Linked DNA regions of Homo sapiens: all the other regions are linked to region 2. The links are contacts of gene promoters, found by promoter capture Hi-C in blood cells and fetal thymus (Javierre and others, 2016). All regions are on one chromosome and are shown on one strand. Each heading gives the region's core, a stretch centred on a gene start or on the middle of the fragment in contact. The rest is flanking DNA. Distances are from core to core; before and after follow the strand shown.

Region 1 (2,700 bases), core at 38-2,537, 350 kb before region 2:
ATGCAGGAGGATCGCTTGAGCCCAGGAGTTCGAGACCAGCCTAGGCAACACAGTGAGACCCCCCCCACCCGCCCCGCCATCTCTACAAAAAGTTAGCTGGGCATGGAGGCTGCTGCCCGTAGTCTCAGCTACTTAGAGGACCGAGGTGGGAAGATGGCTTGAGCCCAGGAGGTCAAGGCTGCAGTGAGCTGTGGCTGTACCACTTGCACCCTCCAGAACTGAGAGGAAATAGGTTTCTGTTGTTGAGCGATCCAGTCTGTGGCCTCTTGTTACGGCAGCCTAGCAAGCAAACCTCCCCCTGGCCCCGTGACCTCTCCCGCTGTTCTGGAGGCTGCAAGGCCAAGTCCAAGACCAAGGAGTCTGCAGGGTTGGTGTCTGCTGCAGCCTCTCTCCTTGGCTTGCAGATGGTGCCTTCTGGCTGTGTCCTCACATGATCTTCCCTCACTTCCTGCATATCTGAATCCTCAGCTCCACTTCTTTATTTTTTTTTTTTTGAGACAGGGTCTGACTCTGTCACCCAGGCTGGAGTGCAGTGTTGCGATCTCAGCTCACTGCAGCCTCGACTTCCTAGGCTCAAGCCATCCTCCAACCTCAGCCTCCTGAGTAGCTGGGACCCCTGGCAGAGGCACCATCGAGGCTTCCCTTTGGCTCTCCGCTCCAGCAGCACTGGCCTCCTCACTGAGCTTGGTCCAGGACGGTGCTTTTGCTGTGCCTTCTGCCTGTCATGCCCTTTCCAGATCTCCCCAGGGCTGCCGCCTTCTTATCCCTCAGGTTTCTGCTCAAATATCCCCCTCCAAAGAGGCCCTCCCTGACCAAAGTGCCAATCAGGGCTAGTATCCATCTCTCTCACTGGATGGACCTTCACCAGGGCAGGGGATATGTCTCCAGGGCCACAGCAGGGCCCGGCACACAGTAGGTGCACAGTAAAGGTTTGCTGAAGGCAGTCAGGCTCACCTTGGTACTGCCACCCCATCTCCCAAAACACAGGGTCACAGGGTCTCAGAGGCAGAGCAGGGCCTCCAGGGGGGCCCGTGGATGTGGGTGGTCCAACCATGAGGACTGCCTACCTGCTGGGGGCACAGGCTGCAGCCACCCATCCCCTCGGCTTCCCACGCAGCACCTGTGTTCACCGCCCCCTTCCCCATCTGTCTTCCAGTGATTCCTCCAGAGGCTGCTTGTTTGGGAAGAAGGCTAGATGGCTAAGCAGGTAGGACCAGGTGGAAACACAGCCCATCACTTTGGACTTGGGGACTCTGCCAGTGCCTCCCTGCTCCAGTGTCTGAGGAGGACTTGAGCATAGGAAGGTGCGTGCCTGCTCAGTCCTGGGACTCGTGGGGTGGAGCATTCACCTGGGGACTCGTGGGGTAGAGCTGGGGCTGGGACCACTGCCTGCACCTCCATCTGGGAGCAGGATGAGGGAAGGGCAGGAAACCACTGGGAGGCGCTGGGTGGGAGTTCGCTCTTTGCTCAGTCAACCCTGTCTTGAGACAGCCCTACTCCCACTTGAAAGGCTGAGACAGAAAAGACTGACACCACCAAGTGTGGGTGAGGATGTGGAGCCACAGGGGCAGGGGTGAAATGTGAAATGGTGCAGCCACTCTGTAAAACCTTTTGCTAGTTTCTTCAAAAAAAGTCAAATGTGGCTGGACGCGGTGGCTCACGCCTGTAATCCCAGCACTTTGGGAGGCCGAGGCGGGCGGATCACGAGGTCAGGAGATAGAGACCAGCCTGGCTAACACGGTGAAACCCTGTGTCTACTAAAAATACAAAAAAAATTAGCCGGGCGCGGTGGCAGGCGCCTGTAATCCCAGCTACTCAGGAGGCTGAGGCAGGAGAATGGCATGAACCCGGGAGGCGGAGCTTGCAGTGAGCCGAGATTGCGCCACTGCACTCCTGGGACAGACAGAGTGAGACTGTCTCAAAAAAAAAAAAAAAAAAAAAAGTCAAATGTAGACACGTGCATCCTGGCAATCCCACGTCTAGATATTGGAATAAAATTAAAACACAGGTCCATAAAAACCTGTACAGATGCTTGTCACAGCTCCATTGATAATTTCTGCAATCTGGAAACAAGCCAAGTGTCCCTGGGCTGGTGAAGAGGTAAACACATGGAGGCCTCCATACAATGGAACGAAAAGGAACAGCCTCTTGATACTCCGACACAAGGATGCATCTCCAAGCCAGGCTGGAAAGGCTCCACGCTGCAGGATCCCATGTACATGCTGTTTGGAAAAGGCCAGGCCACAGGACGGGACACAGATGGGTAGTTGCCAGGGCTAGGGCTGGGGCTGGGGGGAGGGACTGACTGGGAAGGGCCACCAGGGAATTTTCTGGTTGCTGGGAATGTTCCATGTCTTGTTCAGAGCATTTACAGGGTATAAACGTGCAAAGTTTACCAGACTTCACATTTGAGATCTGAGGCCACTTCTCCTGATGTAAATTATAACTCAATGAATAAAAGTTTTTAAAAACAACCCAGTTCCATACTCGCCAGCCTGTGCCAGGTTCTTAGCCTGGGGACAGAGCTGGGGCGGGGCGGGTCCCTGCTTTCTGACCGGCAGGGGTGGGAGGGGCCCAGGCTGGGGTGCTGCGAAGGCAACCCAGGGAGGGCGCCCGAGCCCCGCCCAGGCCAGGCCCCAGGCTCTCCCGTGCTCCCGCCCCGCAGAGAGAGGCCGGAAGCGGCCCCGGAGGGCCCATTGT
Region 2 (2,886 bases), core at 8-2,507:
CCCTGTTTTAAAAAAAAAGTTTCAAGATGGAGGCAGTCCCCAGGGCTAGATGTGGCAGTCCCACATCTGGGACTTTGGGAACTGACTCGGGGGGCAAGCTCCTTGGCACCCATGTGTTTCTCCTCCCTGCTTCCCCTCCCCTCCTTTGCTAGAGTTGGGTGAACTCCAATAGATTCCTGTGCAGGGGCTGCAGACTCGAATGTCCCTCCTCAGTGACAGGGGCAACACATTGGAAGACATTAGGGAGTGGTGGAGACTGTGGTGGCCGAGAGCAGCCAGGCTCAGCTCCACCTGGCTGTTGACAGGAGGAAATGGGGGCCCATTCTTTTTCAAGAGAAGCCATAAATCCAAAATTTTCTAAGTTATCTTGGTTTTAAAATGTTGGTTATTCAGATTTTTTTCAAAACACTGTGGAAGTCAATCAAAATTGTCCATGAACTGGTTGTAGCCTACAGGCCGCCACTTTTGGAATTCTGAAAGCTTTCCTCTGGCTCCTATTACACAGAGGAGAAAACTGAGGCCCAGAGAAACGGAGGCACTAGCCAGGAATGACACAGTTAAGATTAGCACCCTGGAGCCTGCGGGGTGGCTCACGCCTGTAATCCCAGAGACGCAGGAGTCTGAGGCAGGAGGATGACTTGAGCCCAGGAGTTCAAGGCTGCAGTGAGCCGTGATCGCGCCACCGCACTCCAGTCTGGGGGACAAAGCGAGATCCCATCTCTTTAAAAAAAAAAAAAAAAAAAGTAGAGCTCCGCTCCCACTTGCCCCCCATTCTCTCTCTCTCTCTCTTTCTCTCTCTCTCTCTCTTGCTCTACTCTCGCCCGTCTGCGTTCTACATTGGTTCTGCGGCCGTGTCCCTTTCGTGTGTGTCTGCCCTGTGTTTCTCCGTCGTCTCCGTGTGGATCTCGGTCTTTGTCTCGCCCTCTAGCTCTCTCGTGCGCCTGTGTTTAATCGTGCGCTTCTCTCAATCTCTCTGTCCCTCCCTTTGCCCCCTACACGCGTGTTCTCGTCAACAGATCTCCAGAGGTGGTGCAGAAACGACCCCGCGCCGGCGCCCCATCCTGCGGCCAGTGCCTCCGCGCCCCGGCTCCGGTCCCCACCGTCCCCGCCCCAGATTTCCGGAGGAGCAGGCGGGCGGGGTCCCGCGGGGCCGGCTGCCGTCAGCGCCCCTTCCCGGCGGCCGCGACCCCTCCCCGCTGACCTCACTCGAGCCGCCGCCTGGCGCAGATATAAGCGGCGGCCCATCTGAAGAGGGCTCGGCAGGCGCCCGGGGTCCTCAGCGCTGCAGACTCCTGACCTGCCGACTGCGGATCCCGAGTCCCCGGATCCCGGACCCATCCTGTGGAGCCCACTCCTGGCAGGTAACCGCCCCAACCCCTCTCCTTCCGCAGACGGTGTCCGGGAGCACTGGAAAGGGAGCCCTCTCGGCCCGCCCTCACCTTCGGTTCTCTGAGAGCTTCCTGGAGAACAGGGCCGGTGCACAGGCGGGCGCTGTGCTCGCACCCCCGGGTCCTCCCCGAGCGCAGGCCGGGGACCCGACGGGAGGCACGGCGCGGGCACATCGGAGGCTCTCGCTGCTGGGCACTCAGGTCGCCAGAGTCCGCAGCGCGGGGTGGGAGCTCCGCGGCACCCCCTGCCTGGGTGCCGCCGGACAGAGCTGGGTATTCAGGGCGTCGGCCTGAGAACCTGGGAGTTCGAATCCCAATCTCAACGCTAGAAATAGAATTTTAGCGTTGAAGTTAGGATTTTAGCGTTAGAATCAGATTCCTGGCTTAGTCATGAAAGCTTAGCATTAGAAATAGAATCTTAGCTTTGCAAATAGACTTTGAGCTTTAGAACCTGAATCTTAGCGATAGAAATGGGATCTTCGCGTTGGAATGAGGACGTCGGCCACGGAGCTTGGAGTTAGAACGTGGCGATGGGGACCTTTGGGGGAGTCTTGGCGGGGACGCAACCGTTAGCGTCGCGGCTGTGCCTGGCGCTGCAATCTCAATGGTTGCACTCCCGGCGAGGCAGTCCCAGCGTTGGCTTCCCCAGTTCCGCGTCACATTGAAGGGTGGCGGTGGCGCTGGCGATGGGGTTCCTACGGCCTCCTGCCTTGCGCAAGCAGAACTGGGCGCAGGCACTACAGGCACCCGTGGGGGCGAGGACGCCTAGAGGTGACAGGTGTGGACGCAGAGCCGGGGCGAACCCGCCGCTGCTCCCGCCCCTGCACGAGGGGCAGTGGTCCTGCTTCTGGGAGGGCGGTTGAACTGTGCGTGGTTTGTTTCTGGCGGGCGTCGGGGGAGATGGAGCGGGATGTGCTGTGATTCGGTGCGCTCAGGCTCCCTCTGTCCCCTAACCCAGACGCCGCGATGCCCGGCCCTTGGTTGCTGCTCGCTCTGGCTTTGACCCTGAACCTGACCGGTGTCCCCGGCGGCCGTGCTCAGCCAGAGGCGGCCCAGCAGGAGGCAGTGACGGCCGCGGAGCATCCGGGCCTGGATGACTTCCTGCGCCAGGTGGAGCGCCTCCTCTTCCTCCGGGAAAACATCCAGCGGCTGCAAGGGGACCAGGGTGAGCACTCCGGTGAGTGGATGGGGCTGTTGGGGGCTGTGGGGCTAGGCTATTGGGAGAGCCGTGGAAACCTGCCGGCAAAGGGGAGGGGAGGCTTGGTCAGCTAGCCTTCTGCCTTTCGGAAGCTCAGAAACCCTCCCTGGCTGCGCCTAGGCGGGATCTGGAGTTGACCATTCCTCGGGGTCAGATTCCTCCCCTGTCTCAATGCTGGGAATATTTCACAGAGAGCAGGCCCTGGGTGGGGAAGCTTCTGTGTGCTAGGGAGAGAGTTTCTTTGTGTGTGACAGTTTGAATTACTACTGTCTAGGCACTTCTGTGCCAGACACTATTCCA
Region 3 (2,787 bases), core at 167-2,666, 430 kb before region 2:
CTGCAGCCTTGACCTCCCAGGCTCAAGCAATCCTCCTGCCTCGGCCTCCCAGGTAGCTGGGACTACAGGTGCACACCACCATGCCCAGCTAATTTTTGTATTTTTTGGTAGAGACAGGATTTCACTTTTTTGCCTAGGCTGGTCTTGAACTCCTGGGCTCAAGCGATCCTCCTGCCTCAGCCTCCCGAAGTTCTGGGATTACAGGTATGAGCCACCATGCCTGGCCTCTCATCCTTGTTTTAATCCATCTTGTCATTTTATATTATATTATATTATTTTATTTTATTTTTATTTACTTATTTTTGAGACACAGTTTCGCTCTTGTTGCCCAGGCTGGAGTGCAATGGCTCGATCCTGGTTCACTGCAGTCTCCAGCTCCCAGGTTCAAGTGATTCTCCTGCCTCAGCCTCCCAAGTAGCTGGGACTACAGGTGCACACCACCACGCCCAGCTAATTTTGTATTTTTAGTAGAGATGAAGTTTTACCATGTTGGCCAGGCTGGTCTCAAACTCCTGACCTCAGGTGATCCGCCCACCTCAGCCTCCCAAAGTGCTAGGATTACAGGCCTGAGCCACCGCACCAGCCCACCTTGTCATTTTAGATGGCTGCAGAATATTCTGCAGAAAGGGTGTGATTTAGCCAGGCCTTGGGTGTTTGCTTGGAAAGTTTTTTTTTTTTGTCTGTCAATTTGATGGGAAAAAGTAGTATTTCACCATTGTTTCAATTTGAATTTTCTCAAATGCCAAGGAAGTTGAGTGTCCATTTTCCTGTTTCTGTTCCTCACCCTTTAGGCTGGTGAATTGCCTGTTTATATTCTTTGTCCATTGTCCCAGTGGATGTTGTCCTTATCTATGAAGACTTTTGTGAAGCATCCTCCGTTATTGATTTATTTCTTTAAAAACAAAACCAAAGGAGGGCATAGGCCCAGAGAGCCTGGCTGGCCTCAGAAGGGGCTACTCTGATTGAGGGGCATGTGCTCTGGGCAAAAGTAGCAGTTGGGCTGCCTCCAACTGCTACTTTTTGAGAAATTGAGGCCAGCAGTGGCGTGGGGCAGCCCATTGCCCACCTGGTAGGATTAGAGGGCCGCCTCAGCGGCCTCCCTGACAACACAGGTGACCCCAATTCCTCATCAGCATCTCCAGCCCCTGGTGGGCAGAGGGCACAGGCGAGATCAAGCATCTCAGCTCCCAACATTGCACCATGGGGACTGAGACCCAGAGAAGTCAAGCGACACCCCCAAGCTTACACAGGAGTGGGTAGTCCAGCTGGGGCTCCCTACAGAAGGCAGGATGCTGTGCCCCATTCCACACCTCCAGCCCCAGTCAGCAGCTTGGAGCACTCCCAGCCCAATCAGGGCTGATTGGAGTGGTGGGGGTGGGCTGCTGGTATATAAGCCTAGTGGGCAGGCCCAGCAGCCTCACACCCGGGTGAGGGGTCTGCTGGCTGCACCTGTCGGTCTCATGGCTCCTGGGAGCGTCACCAGCGACATCTCACCCTCCTCGACTTCCACAGCAGGATCATCCAGGTCTCCTGAATCTGAAAAGCCAGGTGAGCAAGAGGAGGCAGCTCCTCCCTCATCCCTGCGAGCCCACTCCCTGGGTTGCCTTTGATGCTCCACCCCTGCTTCTCGTTCTTTCCCAGCCTGGCCCCAGCACCTACCCAGCACCCACCCAGCACTCACCCAGCACTCACCCAGCACCCACCCAGCACCAAGCTGCTGAGCTCAACTGCCTTTTGGCTGAAGAGCTGATCTACAGGTAGCAAGGCCAGGTAGGGCCTGGGGGCTGGGGCCGGCCTCGCTCAGGGAAGAGCCACAGGGCCTTCCAGCTGGAGCCCGTTTCCTGCTGGGACCGTAGCCCGTAGCCAGGCTGCAGCTGTGGGCAGCTAGTTGGAGGGACTGGGGCAGGAGCATTTTATGCAGGGCTAGGCATTCCGATTTTCAACCAAAAAACACCTCAGGGTTTATCTGGACATGAGGGTGCACCGAGGCAAACCAGGCCCAGTTCACTCCCTCGAGGACCTCCCGGTCTGATGGGGAAGCCTGGCCCATGGCTTGTTGCTGTTTGCTAATGTGATGTGTGCTTCAGTGGCGGTAATCCAGAGCTGGAGGAGCCCAGAGGAGTCCTCTAACCCACTCTGGGAGGTCAGGGAAAGCTTCCTAGAAGAGGTGACCCTGAAGGATGGGTGTGCCTCAGCCGGGGGAAGTGTTCTATTTGCCAAGACACCTAGGGAGATAGGGAGGGGGTCCAGGTGCCGAGAAGTAAAAGGGCAGAGTTAACTGGGAAGTCAGAGGTGTCCAAACCAAGGTGCATTTTGAGCCTTGAAGGATGAGTGAGAGCAGCCTGCATGACCGGGAGGAGAGAGGCAGCCCAGGCAGAGGAAACGGCATGGGCTAAGGCCCAGAGGCCAGCGCACCAGCAGCTTGTCTCGGAAGCTGCATCTTCCTTCTGGGAAGGAGGGAAGTGCTGGGGCAGTGCTAGGGGAGCAGTGGGAGGGCCTCCAAGGCGGTCTTCAGTTAGGTCAACTTTTATCTTGAACAGGGAGCCATGGACGGTTTCAAGCAGGGAGGTGAGGGGTGTGAGATACAGCGAGGAGAATGCATGCGGTGGGGAAGAGGCAGTGGGGAGGAGGCTGGGGCTGGGGAGTTGGAGAGGAGAGGCCAGAATATGGAGAGAAAAGCCTATGGGGAGGCCTCGAGTGGGTGTGGTGAGGAGGAAAGGGCCCAGAATGCCCCCAGTTCTTGCTTGGATGTTGGGTAGGTATGGGCAGTGGGGGCATGGGGCATTC
Region 4 (2,895 bases), core at 1-2,500, 330 kb before region 2:
CTGAAGAGAGTTAGATGAGTGACACAGGTGCCTGTCCTCTAGGAATTCTCAGTCTACTAATAATCAAGATCATGGTATAGCACTTTCTCTTGCCAGATGCTGGGCTAGGCTCTGTACAATTTTCATTTAATCCTCATAACCTTCACAACCTTCTGTTAAGGTAAAGTGGTTATTAAAATTCTTAAAAGAGGCCAGGCGCGGTGGTTCATGCCTATAATCCCAGCACTTTGGGAGGCTGAGGTGGGTGGATCACCTGAGGTCAGGAGTTCGAGACCAGCGACCAGCCTGGCCAACATGGTGAAACCCCGTCTCTACTAAAAAATACAAAAAATTAGCTCGGTGTGGTGGCACAGGCCTATAATCCCAGCTACTTGGGAGGCTGAGGCAGGAGAATCACTTGAACCTGGGAGATGGAGGTTGCAGTGAGCCAAGATCGTGCCACTGCACTCCAGCCTGGGCGACAGAGCAAGACTCTGTCAAAATAAAATGAGATGAAATAAAATAAAATAAAATACTTAAAATAAAAACTTTAGACAAGTTAAATTTAACAAAGAATGATTCATGAATTGGGCAGCCCCTAAGACCAGGACAGGTCAGTGAGAGTCTGGGGCTGCCATATGGCTAAGTAACATTTATGGACAGAAAAAGGCAAGTGGTGTATAAAAAATTGAAGTGAGGTATGCAGACCTCACTTATTCTTGTTAAACTTATTCTGGGCTTGTACCTTATTTCAACAGTTGGCTGCCTGTGGTTGACTGAAGTTCGGCTGCTGTGATTGGCGGAGACTTGGCTACTCGTTACAAGAGTAGGTTCCAATCTGCTTATGCCTGGCTAGGTTACAGTTCCCTATGTATGGAGAAACCTTTAGGCCAAACTTAAGATATGTACAGAAGCAGCTTTAGGCAAAATTTAACATAATTCATTTTCATCATGATTTGTTGCACCTTTTAATACAGTCTCGAAAACTATTGAACTGAATTCTTTCAACAGATAAAGAATATTCTCTTGAACAGCTTAAACATTCAGTAAGACAGAAGCATGAATAAATTTTGTCAAGTACTCTTGCTCTGGGATTTAAGGATTGTAATACCAAAGGTGACAGGGATTTTTTTTTTTTTTTTGAGATGGAGTCTTGCTCTGTCGCTAGGCTGGAGTGCAGTGGCGTGATCTCGGCTCACTGCAACCTCCGCCTCCCAGGTTCAAGCAATTCTCCTGCCTCAGCCTCCCAAGTAGCTGGGACTACAGGTGAGTGCCACCACGCCCAGCTAATTTTTGTACTTTTAGTAGTGACGGGGTTTCACCATGTTGGCCAGAATGGTCTCCATCTCTTGACCTCGTGATCCGCCTGCCTCGGCCTCCCAAAGTGCTGGGATTACAGGCGTGAGCCACAGCGCCTGGCCCAGGGATTTTTTTTTTTTAAAAGAACTGAACTCTGAGTTGCCTACACCCTTTTTCCACTTATCAAAAAACTGTGAAGAGCCTCTACTTACAGGATCAATAGGCAAAAGACCAAATACCTTGGACACCATTCCTCAAACACCCAACTGATTGGGATGACCTGAAAAACAGGTTTCTGGTTTCTTCTCAAAGGGCTGTAATTAAACAGAAGGCTGGGTCACCTTTCAACACCTGTAATGGCTTCTCTTGTAGTCACAAGGTAAACCTTTAGCGTGGTATTCAAGATTTCTTGCAACTTGGCCCCCACATATGATTCTCACACATTCTTTCAGGCACCCTACCAGTCACTTAAGGCTCCTTATCCATTGCTTGAACTGCTCACCTAGGCCGTTTTCACCTCTGTGGTTTTGCTAATACCTCCAATAGAAATGCCCCCTCACCTATTTCTGCTCATCATAAAGCCACCATCTTTCAGTCCAGATACCATGGCCTCCTCCGTTGAGCCTTTCCCTATTGCTCTGTTAGAATTGCTTCCTCCTCTTTGCTCCCACACGTCTTCTGCCTCTTTACCACATGTATTTCATTCTACTAAGTTCCTTTTTCCACAGCCCAGTCTTGTATAGAGTGGCTCTTAAGTGCTGCTGGCTAAATAGGAGGTACCAGCTGCTGCTGTCACCTCTGCACGTGCTCCTCCTTCTCAGCCCGCAGGGCTTCTGGCAGCGGGACATCTATGTGACCCCCAAGCCTAGAAATCCAGGGCTGGAAGAAAGCTCAAGGGGTGGCCCAAACTTGGTCTAGAGCCCCCTCTAAGGCAATCTGGAGGCAAAAGATGGTCTAGTATGATCTGTCATTAGGAACACTATCAATTCTTTTTTCACTTCTCACTGGACCTATTTTTAAGTTTTTGATATATTTAATTTAAAAAATACACAAATACATTTTCTTCAAAGAGATTCATACTTTATAGAAGCCAAGCATGAAAGTGCTGCTTAACCACTGTTCCTCCCTCTCCCTTCCCAAAATAACGGGAAAGTTTAATGCAAAGTTTTTACACATCCACATGCATATATTTACACAAATATACATATTCTCAACATAAATGGGAGACAATATATTGTTCCACAGTTGGCTTTTTAAATCTTAATGCACTGATTATACAGGAGGCTGAACAATTTTCTGGTATGCTTATTGGTCATTTTTCTTTTCTTTTTTTTTTTTTGAGACAGAGTCTCGCTCTGTCGCCCTGGCTGCTGGAGTGCAGCGACACCATCTCGGCTCACTGCAAGCTCCGCTTCCTGGGTTCACGCCATTCTCCTGCCTCAGCCTCCCGAGTAGCTGGGACTACAGGCGCCTACCACCATGCCCGGCTAATTTTTTTGTCTTTTTAGTAGAGACGGGGTTTCACCATGTTAGCCAGGATGGTCTCGATCTCCTGACCTCGTGATCCACCCGCCTCAGCCTCCCAAAGTGCTGGGATTACAGGCGTGAGCCACCGCG

The links. The method cuts DNA at HindIII sites, captures the fragments that hold promoters and counts their contacts. A CHiCAGO score of 5 or more calls a contact.
Region 1: a fragment that was not itself captured here is called in contact with the fragment with the promoter of TRH in region 2 in 4 of 17 cell types (non-activated CD4 T cells, naive CD4 T cells, megakaryocytes and 1 more); the score reaches 6.0 in non-activated CD4 T cells.
Region 3: a contact is called between the fragment with the promoter of H1-8 here and the fragment with the promoter of TRH in region 2, in 2 of 17 cell types (non-activated CD4 T cells and neutrophils). The highest score is 5.7, in non-activated CD4 T cells.
Region 4: a fragment that was not itself captured here is called in contact with the fragment with the promoter of TRH in region 2 in 6 of 17 cell types (erythroblasts, M0 macrophages, activated CD4 T cells and 3 more); the score reaches 6.2 in erythroblasts.

The regions. Positions count from the first base shown.
Region 1 is chr3:129,624,215-129,626,914 of GRCh38, forward strand. No RefSeq gene overlaps it. Among named protein-coding and RNA genes, the nearest start is that of PLXND1, 19 kb to the left of the region's middle. RefSeq lists enhancers at 1-79, 732-1,341 and a silencer at 2,594-2,700. The HindIII fragment of the contact is 4,995 bases long and covers 1-2,700 here.
Region 2 is chr3:129,973,463-129,976,348 of GRCh38, forward strand. It overlaps TRH (thyrotropin releasing hormone), which reads left to right and starts at 1,258. Exons shown (of 3, transcript NM_007117.5): 1 at 1,258-1,361; 2 at 2,347-2,565. The coding sequence starts at 2,355. It also overlaps the pseudogene LOC124906284. The HindIII fragment of the contact is 1,305 bases long and covers 479-1,783 here.
Region 3 is chr3:129,541,759-129,544,545 of GRCh38, forward strand. It overlaps H1-8 (H1.8 linker histone), which reads left to right and starts at 1,417. Exons shown (of 5, transcript NM_153833.3): 1 at 1,417-1,548. The coding sequence starts at 1,461. RefSeq lists an enhancer at 956-1,457. The HindIII fragment of the contact is 913 bases long and covers 1,240-2,152 here.
Region 4 is chr3:129,643,458-129,646,352 of GRCh38, forward strand. No RefSeq gene overlaps it. Among named protein-coding and RNA genes, the nearest start is that of PLXND1, 38 kb to the left of the region's middle. The HindIII fragment of the contact is 3,721 bases long and covers 1-2,895 here.